2 separate regions of the Homo sapiens genome follow, and region 2 is linked to region 1. The links are contacts of gene promoters, found by promoter capture Hi-C in blood cells and fetal thymus (Javierre and others, 2016). All regions are on one chromosome and are shown on one strand. The core of a region is centred on a gene start or on the middle of the fragment in contact, and the rest is flanking DNA. Distances in the headings are between cores, read along the strand shown.

Region 1 (5,751 bases), core at 1,386-3,885:
GCGGGCAGATCATGAGGTCAAGAGATTGAGACCATCTTGGCCAACATGGTGAAACCCCGTCTCTACTAAAAATACAAAAATTAGCTGGGCTTGGTGGTGGGTGCCTGTAATCCCAGTTACTCAGGAGGCGGAGGCAGAAGAATCGCTGGAACCCGGGAGGCGGAGGTTTCAGTGAGCCGAGACCAAGCGACTGCACTCCAGCCTCGTGACAGAGCTTGACTTCTCTCAAAAAAAAAAAAAAAAAAGAATTAGATTAAAAAAAAGACTGCCTTGACGACTGGGTCTAAGAATGTGTTATTGTTTTCTGAAATGTTGGATGCTTGTTAGCACCAGCTGATCAAATAAAATAGAGTGAATCTTTTCTTTTAGTAAAGAGAAACATTCATCTGTGAATAATCTTTGAACTTGCTCCTGAGACTGTATCTTTCTTATAGACAGCATTCATTGAAAATAGTTCTATAAAAGTTTATAACCAAAATAATTACAAACAGTTTTAAAGACTCCTACTGAAAAATCACACCTCCCTAATCCAGTAGGTTTTTTTTTTTCCAGTTGAAGAATGCATTGCTTTTGTGGATCATAACCAATTTTTTTTTTTTTTTTTTTTTTTTTTTTGTTAAGAGACAGGGTCTTGCTCTATCACCCAGCCTGGAATGCAGTGGGACAATCACAGTTCACTACAGCCTCAAACTCCTGGGCTCAAGAGATCCTCCCACCTTAGCCTCCTGAGTTGCTTGGATTACAGGCGTGCGCCACCACACCCAGCTCACGACTAATTTTTTTAATGAAACAGAACAGACTAGAGCAGGATAGAATACAAAATAGTGTATGTCACAGGTAATTAGGCTACACATCATTTCATAAGGCATTTATTTTTGTTACAATTGAATGTGTATACTTTGTCATTTTGTAAACATGTTTTTCACTGTAGGTTACAGTCAAAAGAAGTTTGAAAGCTTCTCTAATATTTACAATTCAACTAAATCAAGGAAATACATAAAAAGCAACATCTGCCTGCCCCCTCACCCTCCTGCCCCCCAGGTTACATGCAGTCCAAGGGCAAAAATCCTCCCAGAAAAATTAATAACAAATAATTGTATTACTGATGACAATTGCCATTACAATTATAGTAATAAATTAATAACGAAATACATAGGGAACAAACGTTGGGAACACTCCAAAACATGGGGGGTGCAGGAGGAGGCTACAGGAAACATCTCCACAGCTGGAGCAGGGAATCTCGCCTAAAATGAACTGTAACCACTGAGAAAAAATAAGCCCTGTCCTCTCAGCTACTGTGAGCGCTGCCCCTAGAAAAGTAAGAAGTCCTTTCCCCTTTAAAATTGGATTCTCTGTTCTTACCACAACACAGAGGAGGCTCTGTCCCAGGGAGATTTCTACTCTGCTCAACAATTGATAATTGTAAAATACTTGGCTATGCCTCATGCTGCTCCAACATATTATCAGCTCTATCCTGGTTAGAAAAATAAAAATCTAACGGCGGCGGCAGCCGCCTGACAATGGGCTCAAGGCACATCGGAGACTTTGCCTTCTTCACTGCGGGTGGGGCTGGGGACGGTGGGTTTGGCGGGGGAGGGGAGGAGCCGGGCTGGGGCCTGGGAAGGCAGAGAGTGAGTTCCACCAGCAAGATCTGATTGTGGCCCGGGAGAGAATTCAATCACTCGGTTTACTCCAGAACGAAATGAACAGGGAATTGGGTTAAGCAGCCCAAAGTCTACCAGAGTTAGAATACTCGAACGCCTTTAGGGGACAAGCAGGTTAAAAAAAGGAGGGGGGTGGGGAGAAAGGCTTTAGGAAAGGGTAGGTTCTATGGGGGACAAGGAGGGGAAAGCTGGACTGAAGGTTTTCAAATTTACATTTCTGAAAAGCAGTGTTCCTAAGTGCTGGCTAAAGCAAACACTGGTGTAAGGCGTAGGGGGGCACGCACACGCGGACCTTTAAGTTTGCAATCCCTTTCAGCTAACGTGATCCACTGCATATGCAAAACCTGTCATCGGTTCATTCCCGTTCATCACTCATTCACACTATGTCCATTCATGCATCCGCTCCACACTGCCCGGGCTCGCCGCACAGCTGCGCGAGGCGAAGGCAGAGATCAGAGCTTTTTCTTTTTCGCCCCGCCCCAGCCCCCGGACCGGCCCAGGAGATGGCACAGCCCGGGCGTCTGCAGGTGCGTGGCACCGGCGGGACAGCAGGCCCCGGCCAGCTGAGTCGTGCACTGCCTCGCACCAGCAGTCAGGGCCAGGGGCAGCTGCACGGGCACGCCTCGCCGAGCTTCCTCACCAACTGCATTCTTCCCGAAGCCCGCTTGCCGGAGCTGCTGATCCCGCTGTGCACGCTGATGCAAAGCGCCTAGGGGACTCAAGGCAGGGAGCGGGAATCCGACTGCCACACGCAGGGATGCAAACCCACCCGCGTGCGTGCTCCCGCCTGAACCTCACTCCCGGCGCCCGCTCGCGGGGACTTACTGAGTGCGGCAGCTTGGCGGGACCAGGCCCAAAGTTGACCACCTGCCTGGGGGCGTCCATGGTGCGGCGGCCAGGGCGGTGAGTCAGCCAAGGAGGACCGAACGCGTGAACGGCTGGCGTTCCTGGCCGCTGCGGTGAGAGTCTGCAGCCGGCCCCGAACCCCCGCCTTGTTCCTGCGCCGAGTCGGCGCCCCATTGGCCCGTGCTGTCGCAGGCCCTGCGCTAATTGGTTCGCGCGAAGGAGCTCACATCCCCATTGGTCGCGCTTCTGAGCCGAGTCGAAGCAGTTGCTCCTCCTCGCGTTTACTGTTTCAACCCCCATTTTTGATCAATGCAAGGAGCGCGCGAGATTGCGCCAGCCAGCCGAGCCGGCTCGGCTGCGCGCCCGCCCGAGGATTGTGGGCGGCGGGAAGAGGCTGCCCCTGCCAACCTGCCTTCGCCCCTTGAGCCCGCAATCTGGCCGGTTCCAGTCCTCCAACCCCAGAGGACCTCAGCTCCTCTCTCTTGGCTGAAAGGGCAGTTGCCGAGCAGATTTGTAGCCCCCATCCACCCACCTCTCCACCACCAGCCCCCAGTTTGGGCTGTGATGTATTTGTTCCAGAACCACCAGTCACTAATCTACCAAACTTTTCTAAGCACCCCCCACGGGCGTCAGATACCCCAGTGGAGAGAGAGGACCCCCCCAAGGTTGGAAGCGCAGGATGAAGAAGGGCCGGGGGTGGGTGGATACGGTTCTTTGTATTTGCACGTGGGTCCTGAGTTCCTGCAGGATTAAAGAACGGAGGTGGCCAAGGACGCAGGGAGGAGCGATAGCCTGGGAAGCGTGGATGCCCGCCAGGCAAGTCCTTTAAAGTCGCTGATTCTCCATTTCCTCCTTTGGGAAACGAGTGAGCTGGAAACCTGCGACAGCTCTCAGGTTGCGCCCGCGCTGACAAGCTGTGAGTTTAGAAACGTGAGGAGATATTAACAAGAACGCGATACCCATAGGGCGCTGCAGCCCAAACCAGAAGAAGGTGGCCCCTAGCCAGGCCAGGCGCAGGGCCAGAGCTGCTCAAACTTTTCCACAGAAGTGTCCTTCTCAAAAGAACTCCAGTGGAGACCCGCATGGGGTTCTGAAACAGAATACCCTCCCCCTACCCTGCAAGAAAGAAGTTCCTTTGAAGTCTGGAATTTCATCATTTTTAAACTGTGAATTTTGCATTCTCTACCATAATTTAACCTAGTTTCTTTTAATGTAAAAATATTTTCCCTGTCTGAGTAAAATTGATGCGCCAGGAATATATACAGTCCAACTGCCCCGTTTAGAGAAGGCTTGTAACTGGACAGGACTTTGGCTTTTGTTTGCTTTTCCTAATGAGAATGTGGGCGGTATGGGGCTGAGAGCAGAGGCACTGCTCTGGATCTGGGAATTGGAGGACAAAGTTTCCAGAAAAAGGCAAAATGAACAAGGCCCCTGCGTTCCTCAGCAACTTCATTAAGAAAACCGCGACATTCAAGACAGAATAAATCTCAGCCCAGAAACTCAGGCATGCAAGAAGCATCACATATCCATTATTTTACGTAAATAACTCAGTTATTATATATTAGTAGCTGCCCCTAGCAGCTTATCTACTGGAGACTAAGGGAGTCAGCCTTCATCCTTCCTGGAGTTAGTTCCTAACACCAGGGCTATACACAGTCCCATGTAGTGGGTTGGGAGAAGGGACAGCACATCCATTTGGTCCTCTGTTCCCAAAAGATATGGCTGAGTTGTTTCCACTGCCCAAGCTGATGTGGCTGCTTGGGTTGATGAGCAACCTACTACTTCTGTATCCCACTAGGGGCACAGGAATTTGGGGTGGGGTGGCGGTGGCTATTGTCTCATCTGCTAAGACATCCCCTGCAGCCATTCCTCCCGGGGGTCCTGCAGTTTCCAAGATGGTATTTCAGGGACACAAGTCACACATACAGTCAGCCTCAGGACCCACTGACCTCTGTTTGTCTTCCTCCCGCCCCTGGGCAATCTCCTTTTCAGTCTAGAGAAAATCTGTCTTTTCCATGTTTCTTCCTCACACTGTGCCCACAAACACCTTAAACCAGAGCCACAAACTCAAATGCCTCCAGGGGCCACTCAGGGATATGAAACAAGTAGTGGGAACTGTGGCAAATTGAGTTCACCTGTCCATTTGTGGCACAGGTGCACGCGGCCACTGCACATTTATGATTCCCCCATCCATGGGATAGGGTTGATGGCAGGAAGTGGCTGCTCAAACCGGCTTCATGTTTCCCAGCTCCCTTTGCATCTAGGTGAGCCACATGACTGGGTCCCCCCAGTGGAATGTGGGCCAAGTGGATGTGTGTCACTTTCAGGCCAGGGTGGTTGAGAAATGGGTGTGCTTCTCCACTTCCTTTTTCCCATTCCACAGGCTGAAAACAAAAAACTCCCTGGCCCCTAAGGACAGTGGAGACACAGCAAAGAGGGAGCCCCAGGTCCCTGAATCACCTGCACCAGACTTGTCATATGTAAGTGAGAAATCAGCTTCTTTTGTGCTATGTCACTGAAATATGAGAGGCGATTTGTTACAGCAGCTCACATTATCCTGATTATTATGCCATCCTAAATGCAACAGCTGAAGTTCAGATCCAGCTGGTTGTTGCCAAGCAGGCAAATGAAGTTGCTTGAGCTGTCTTCACGTTTTGAAAGAAAACCCAGGAACCCAGATTTTTATGTGACATCTCATTTTTAAACATCTACAAATGTAAATTTCAGCAAAACACTGTACAGATCAATATTTTGAGGGGCAAACTCCAGCTTATCTGAGGCCTTATTGAGCCTACAGGTAACAAGCTCTCTGAAGGACTGTTTATAGTGTTCTGCCCCCAAATTTCCTCCAGTTCAACAAGGAACACCCTCAGCTAAGTGCTTGAATAAAGCAGCAGCAAAGGAGGAAACATAATTTAATCTCAAAATATTATTTTGTCCTTCTTGCCTATTTTGCACTGATCTATAAAGACAGTCCAGGCCGGGCACGGTGGCTCACGCCTGTAATCCTAGCACTTTGGGAGGCGGAAGCAGGCAGATCATGAGGTCAGGAGATCGAGACCATCCTGGCTAACACGGTGAAACCCTGTCTCTACTAAAAATACAAAAAATTAGCTGGGCATGGTGGCGGGCGCCTGTAGTCCCAGCTACTTGGGAGGCTGAGGCAGGAGAATGGCATGAACCCGGGAGGCGGAGCTTGCAGTGAGCCAAGATCGCGCCACTGCACTCTAGCCTGGGAGAC
Region 2 (5,928 bases), core at 408-2,907, 3.4 Mb before region 1:
TAAGCTCCTTCCCGTAAGTCTCTTGAAGGTAAAATAATAAAATAATAACGTGGGGGTTATTAATACCAAAAACTTAACTAGTTTCCAACATAAGATAAATACTTGTCCAAGATGTGCCCTTATGGAAGAAGTTACCACCGTTTGGCTAAACCAGCATTATTCATTCACTGCTCATGTGGAAATGTTCCTCAAACAAAAGCATAAATGCGGCAATACTGACGGTTTTCTGCTGTGTATTTAGAGACATACACAAAAACCAAAGACTCTCAGCATTAATTATACAGCATGTCTTGATTATTACAATCTCAAAATCCCTTTTAACTCAAGTTCCACTTCATAAGAACCTTAGCCACGTCATTTACCTAACTCTTCCCATTTAGCTCTTCACACAGCTCAGCTCAGGAGTACCACCCAGACTGTGGGGGTGGGGTGTGCGGGACAGGTTTTTCAGGTCTCAGTGCTGGTTTATTACATTGTCTCTCTTTGTTCCCAGGAATTGGAAACAGACTCGTAGTCTTGTAGCTGAGAAGTTCCTAAAAACCTCAGCCGCTCCCCACCTCTCCCAACACAGCGAAGTCAGGACTTTTAAGACGAAGACCTGGGATTTCGCGCCCCGGGCAAAACGTCTCATCTGCGGACACGCGTGCCTTGTTCTGGCAGCACCCTGGGAATCCTTCCCGCCAAACGGGACAGGACGATCTTTTTGAAAAGTGGCTTGAAATCCTGCAATAAAAATCAAATCCTACCACTTTGGGTGCAAAGGGGGTGGGTGGGGTGGGAGGACATCACAGTCGTCTTTGCTGGTGTACCTACGCCAACCGTGGCGTTGCTCATTTACGCATTTCCAACTAAGTGCACAGTCCACTCCCTCTCGTACATCCGTAAAAAGGCAGCTCAAGGAAAAACAAACCTCAGATAAATTTTTGAATGTGGCCTCACTTTTAGAGTAGCATCAAACAAGGGGTCCAGCACTGAAAAACACATTTGCTCGAATTACCAAAAGCCCCCCTCCGCCTCCAATAAGAAACTCCGCAGCTAGTCTTTGAGTTACTTTCACTTAGATCTGAGGATTTTCATTAAAGGGAAAAGTGAGCAAGTGGCAGGATTTTTGCTAACTCGAGCCCTCAGCTTCCCCGGCTGCACGCTCGCCAGTCCCTCCCGCTAGCGCGCGCCCGCGCGCTCTCTAGCCAGCCCCACGTTACTTTGATTGACAGCCCAGCCCCGCCGCTCTCCTTCCCACCGACCTTCCCATCATCAGTGCCAATCTCCGCGAATCGCCGCTTCCCATTGGCTGGTTTTGGCGTCCCGCGGCTCCTCCAGGAACAGTTCCTCACCAAGCCCGGGAGGACGCGGCTGGCGGAGGAGGGGCCGGGATGGGAAGGGAGACCGAGGAGACGGCGGAGATGGAAGCGAGAGGAGGGGGGGAGGGAGAACGCCCCGTCCGGCGCTGCGCTGCCATACGCTCCGGGGAGGAGCGCGTCAGCGCCCCACGTTGGTTGCAGCGCACGCGATTGGCTGATGCGGGCCTTCTGCCCCCCCCCCACCCCCCAACCTCCCGGGCTCACGTCCCCCGCCGGCTCCGCGCTCGCGCCCCCCGCCCGAACGGGGCTGGGCGGGGCCGGCGCTGGTTAGCTCCGGAGTGTGAAACCGCGTGTTAATGTAAGCGGCGCGAGAGGCGCGGGCGGCGGCGGCGGTGGGAGCGGCGGCTGCAGAAGCAGCAGCAGCAGAAACAGCGGCGGGTACTCTGTGCCCCGCGTCCCGGAGGCAGCCGACTGCGCCACCCCACCCTCGCACGGCCGGGCGGGACCCGCGCCACCAGCCCGGACCTCCGTCGTCCCGCGGCGACCAAAACCCCCGCTGGCCCCACCGCTGTGACTACTCTGGACTCGCCCGCAGAGTTTGCCCGCCGGGGAGGGTGGCCGATTGGCGGAGCGCACTCCTGCTGTTTTCCCCACCATCTCGTGGATGTCGTCCCTCGGGTGGTGAGAGAACTTTGCAGTGGGCTGGAGCGCCCTTTGCGGAGAAGCACACGAAGGTGAAGGAAGGAAAGAAAGAAGACCGAGGAAGAAGGAGCTCGGAAGAAGGGTCCGGAGCGGCCGGTCCGGCCGTGCAGGGCGAGTGCGCCCGAGGCGCGGCGCCCTGATGCTCCCCGGGCTCGAGGAGCATTGGGCACTTGCGGGACTGCTCTCGGTGGAGTAGCCCCGTCGGGCCCGGAGGGTTTGTGCAACCGCGGAGAACACCGAGTGCTGGTCGCACGGGGCGTGCCGAGCCGCCTCCCGGCGCGCCCTCCGCACTTTCCCCGCCTCGTCATCCGTCGCTCCCCGGCCAGGAGCCTCCGCTGCGTCTTCAACCTCGCTCCCCTTTGCGTCCCGGGAGCCTGCGAGCACCCGGCCGAAGGCGCAGCCGAATCTTGCGGGAGTCGCCCCGAAAGCGTCGGGTTTGTGTGGGGTTAGCGGGGGCCGCCGCGCCACCTGCACCTCGCCCGCCGCCGCCTCGGGGAAAGCCCGAAGAGGAGGCGGACCAGGAGAAGAGCAAAGAAAAGCAGTCCGTCTGGATTTGTTTGCCCAGGACTGGCGCCGCGCACGCGGATCGCCGAGGGGAGTGCGGTCGGAGTCACCGCGCCCCCGCCTCCCCGCCCGGGCAGCTGAGGCCGGGGGTTGGAGCGCTGCCCCCGCGCACAGTCCCCGAGCGCCCGACGTCTCCGCGCAGGTTCTTGAAGCAGCTGGGCCTGGGGCGCCCACTAATGTGGCCCTGAGGGCCGGAGCCCGCACCGACGGGAGCGGGAGCCGGAGCAGCTGCGGGCGCCGAGTGGCCGGTGCGCCCGGCGGAGCGCGCGTGCGTGGCCAGCGCGCTCCCCGCTTCTGCTTGGCTTTCCGGCTTAATTTTCCTCGGCGGGATTAAAGTTGGAAATTGACCGGAGAATTGAGTTGCCGGGGAACAGAGCCCCGGCCGCCGCCAGAGCGATGTTCCCGCAGAGCCGGCACCCGGTGAGGCGCGGCTGGGTGGTGGTGGGGGGCCAGGATCGTTGGGGAGGCGCTTCTCCCGGGCGGTAGGGAGACTGGTGGCTTCTGAGGCCCGGCGGACCTTCTCGCCCTCAGCGGTGTAAGGCTGGGGAGGTCTGGGGCCCTCTCTTCCTGGGGTGGGGAGTGGGCCGAAACTCTTAATTTTCTCCCTCCCTTTGGGCTCCTTCCTACTTGACGTCTATACCGAGCGGACAGGGGCGCTGGGGAAGGCTGGGGTTTCTCTCCTGCAGCCATATCCCCTCTACCTTCCCCGAGTGGGGGCAGGGCGCCCCCCCCTTTGTTTCTCCTCTCGCCTATTTACATGTCAATGCGGCCCCGGTTCCGGTGCGTCTGGAGGTGGCCCCGGCGACTCTGGGAATGGGGAGCGTAAAGGAGTTGTTTTTCTCCTCTGGTCCCCGGGGTCATTATCGCCGCCGTGGGGGAAGGGGCGGCGACACCGACAATCTGGCCTGGTCTTCCCTGGCCGCCGGGGAGCCCCCTTCCCTTTGGCCTGGTGACCCGGGCGCACTTAGCGCAATCCGCCCTGGAGACTGGGAAGAGCTTCCGAGCCTCTTTAGAAGCCGGGGCCCGGGGAGGGTCCGCTTTCCCCCTCCCCATAGTGAAGGGCAAACTCGAGTTTGGGGCCTCGTTTTCAGCCACTTCTAACTTTATGTTTATGTCCCACCCGTTCTTGCCTTCTCTGACTTACTGCTTTATTCATCCGCCCGCATTCCCGTCCCTCGGTCCCCCTCGCTGGTCGCCCCCAGACGCCGCACCAGGCTGCAGGCCAGCCCTTCAAGTTCACTATCCCGGAGTCCCTGGACCGGATTAAAGAGGAATTCCAGTTCCTGCAGGCGCAGTATCACAGGTGCGTGTCCGGCCGCGCCATGCGAGTGGTCGCGGGCGTCCCGGTGCCCCTTGCACCCAGCCGGGTGGCGGCGGCGCCTGTACTTAGTTCTTGCGTCCAGGCGGTGGCGTGTGGAGTCTCAGTTAAGACCTGTCATTCAAGTTACCCCCTTTCCTGGTTCTTCCCGGGCCGCCTCTTCTCTTGTCTCCTCCTCCTCCCATTGTTTCCCTTTTGCCGGTTTGCACTGTTCCAGGGAGTCCTTTTTCATGTCTTTAGGAGTTGCATGAGAATCGTCAATATTTGCACTTCATGTATTTATTTTTCAGCAGACTGAGCTGAAACATTGGTTCAATCGATGTCTCAGTCCTGGAGTGTGGGTTCAGGGAAGCAAAGCCATGTTGAAATCGCTGTTTGCCATACTAGAAAATTGGGTTTTCTGAGGCAAAGTCCATTAAGGAAGGCTAGATGCTTATAACATTGCCCATCATTGGTGATGGTGAGGGAGGTGGGTATAATAGTATAAAGAAGAAAGCTCACCTGCTTTGGCGTCATTTCGGATTGGTTTGGGTAGGATGAGAGAGTGGAGTCACATTTATATCCATCTCAGCCTTAGTTTCTTCAAGTAATGAGACTTACCTTCAAAGGACTTATAAATTTTTGTAAAATACTTTGCCAATAGTGAACTTCCCAGAAAGGTTAGTTTCTTTCCCTTGTTCCTATGAAGTTTTACCTGATTCTAACTCAGAAATAACTGTATTGACATTTTTTGCTTTTGTCATGCTTGAGAAAAAGCACACAGATGAGGCGAAGTGGCTTGGGTGTGAATTTTCTTACTTTGTCAGGGGCTTTCTCATTATTGACCTTTTGTCTACTTGTAGATAATATCTCTGCAGCTTGAGGCATACTTGCACACACCGTGTTTACCCAGCAGGGAGAACTTCAACCCACTTTATTGCAGTAGCTACTTGACATATTTTGGCAGGGATTTAAAAACCAAAGGTTTTGAAAGGGACCAGCAATTGTAGGAGTAACTTAACAGATAGGATTTTCAAACCTAGAGACCGTTTGAGTTGGCAAAGATGGCACAGCCTATGCCTAAGAGTGAAGATTGTGCAAGGGCCGGATTTTGGTGGAGTACAGAGAAACAAACTGATGCAGGAAGGTAGGGAGCAGATGACCATGAGGAGGAATCAGTTAGAGGTTCTGACAGATTTTTTTCATTCTTGTCATCTAACCAGATAGGCACCAAGAAGAATGGTAGCTGAATGGACACCTTGTATTGTTCACATTATTCCTTTTCCCTATTAAATGCAAGGACAAAGCTTTTGGGTGTTTACCTAGATAGTTTATGGCTTTTCCAAATTGGTCTGTGTTTTTACTTGAAGTGCAAATATGTGAGGCAGATGTTAAAACAAGTGACATAATGTTTACATTAAGTTGCCTGTTTTGTTTTCCTAGCCTTAAATTGGAATGTGAGAAACTGGCAAGTGAAAAGACAGAAATGCAGAGGCACTATGTGATGGTAGGTATCAAAGATTGGACTTTTTCCTTTTTCATATGATATTAGCAAACGTGTTAGCAGAGTGTAAAAAACATGAGTTAATGAAATGCTTGATTCTTTTTTCTCTTTACAGTATTATGAAATGTCATATGGATTAAACATTGAAATGCACAAACAGGTAAGCTTTAGTTGAACTTCAAGCTGAAATGAGACATCAGTTCATATGATTTAATAATACTGGCTTTGTTCTCAGTAGTGGGCTCTAGGGGTGGGGGTTTGTATGCTATTTTTCTGCCTTGGTTTCCTGTCCTGTGGATTGATGGTAGTATTCTGCATCAAGGGTTGCTTCTTGATAATTACAAGTGTTTAAATGACTAGGAGAGGGAGAGGTGTTTTGGAAATATAAACTAGCCTCTTTATTGACAGATAGGAATTAAGACTTGAGTTTACTTTTTCACCTGTATAGATTTATCCTCTTGAAAGGGCTGGGTATCTTCTACAGTTGCTGAAGTTTAGAATAGTTAATGTTTTTGTGCTGTTTTGCAAGGAAGTGTGGACCTGTTGGGGGGAAAGAAGGG

The links. Contacts are between HindIII fragments. The CHiCAGO score rates a contact against its expected background, and 5 or more counts as called.
Region 2: a contact is called between the fragment with the promoter of TLE1 here and the fragment with the promoter of PSAT1 in region 1, in 1 of 17 cell types (fetal thymus). The highest score is 6.2, in fetal thymus.

What each region holds. Positions count from the first base shown.
Region 1 is chr9:78,294,009-78,299,759 of GRCh38, reverse strand. PSAT1 (phosphoserine aminotransferase 1) reads right to left here and starts at 2,635. Exons shown (of 9, transcript NM_058179.4): 1 at 2,490-2,635. The coding sequence starts at 2,549. RefSeq lists a silencer at 2,030-2,269 and enhancers at 2,222-2,805, 2,806-3,389, 3,280-3,549. The HindIII fragment of the contact is 4,911 bases long and covers 959-5,751 here.
Region 2 is chr9:81,685,276-81,691,203 of GRCh38, reverse strand. TLE1 (TLE family member 1, transcriptional corepressor) reads left to right here and starts at 1,657. Exons shown (of 20, transcript NM_005077.5): 1 at 1,657-2,987; 2 at 3,770-3,870; 3 at 5,308-5,371; 4 at 5,484-5,528. The coding sequence starts at 2,964. TLE1-DT (TLE1 divergent transcript) reads right to left here and starts at 1,491. Exons shown (of 4, transcript NR_109772.1): 1 at 1,245-1,491. RefSeq lists silencers at 1,110-1,259, 1,410-1,759 and an enhancer at 1,632-2,346. The HindIII fragment of the contact is 8,493 bases long and covers 1-5,173 here.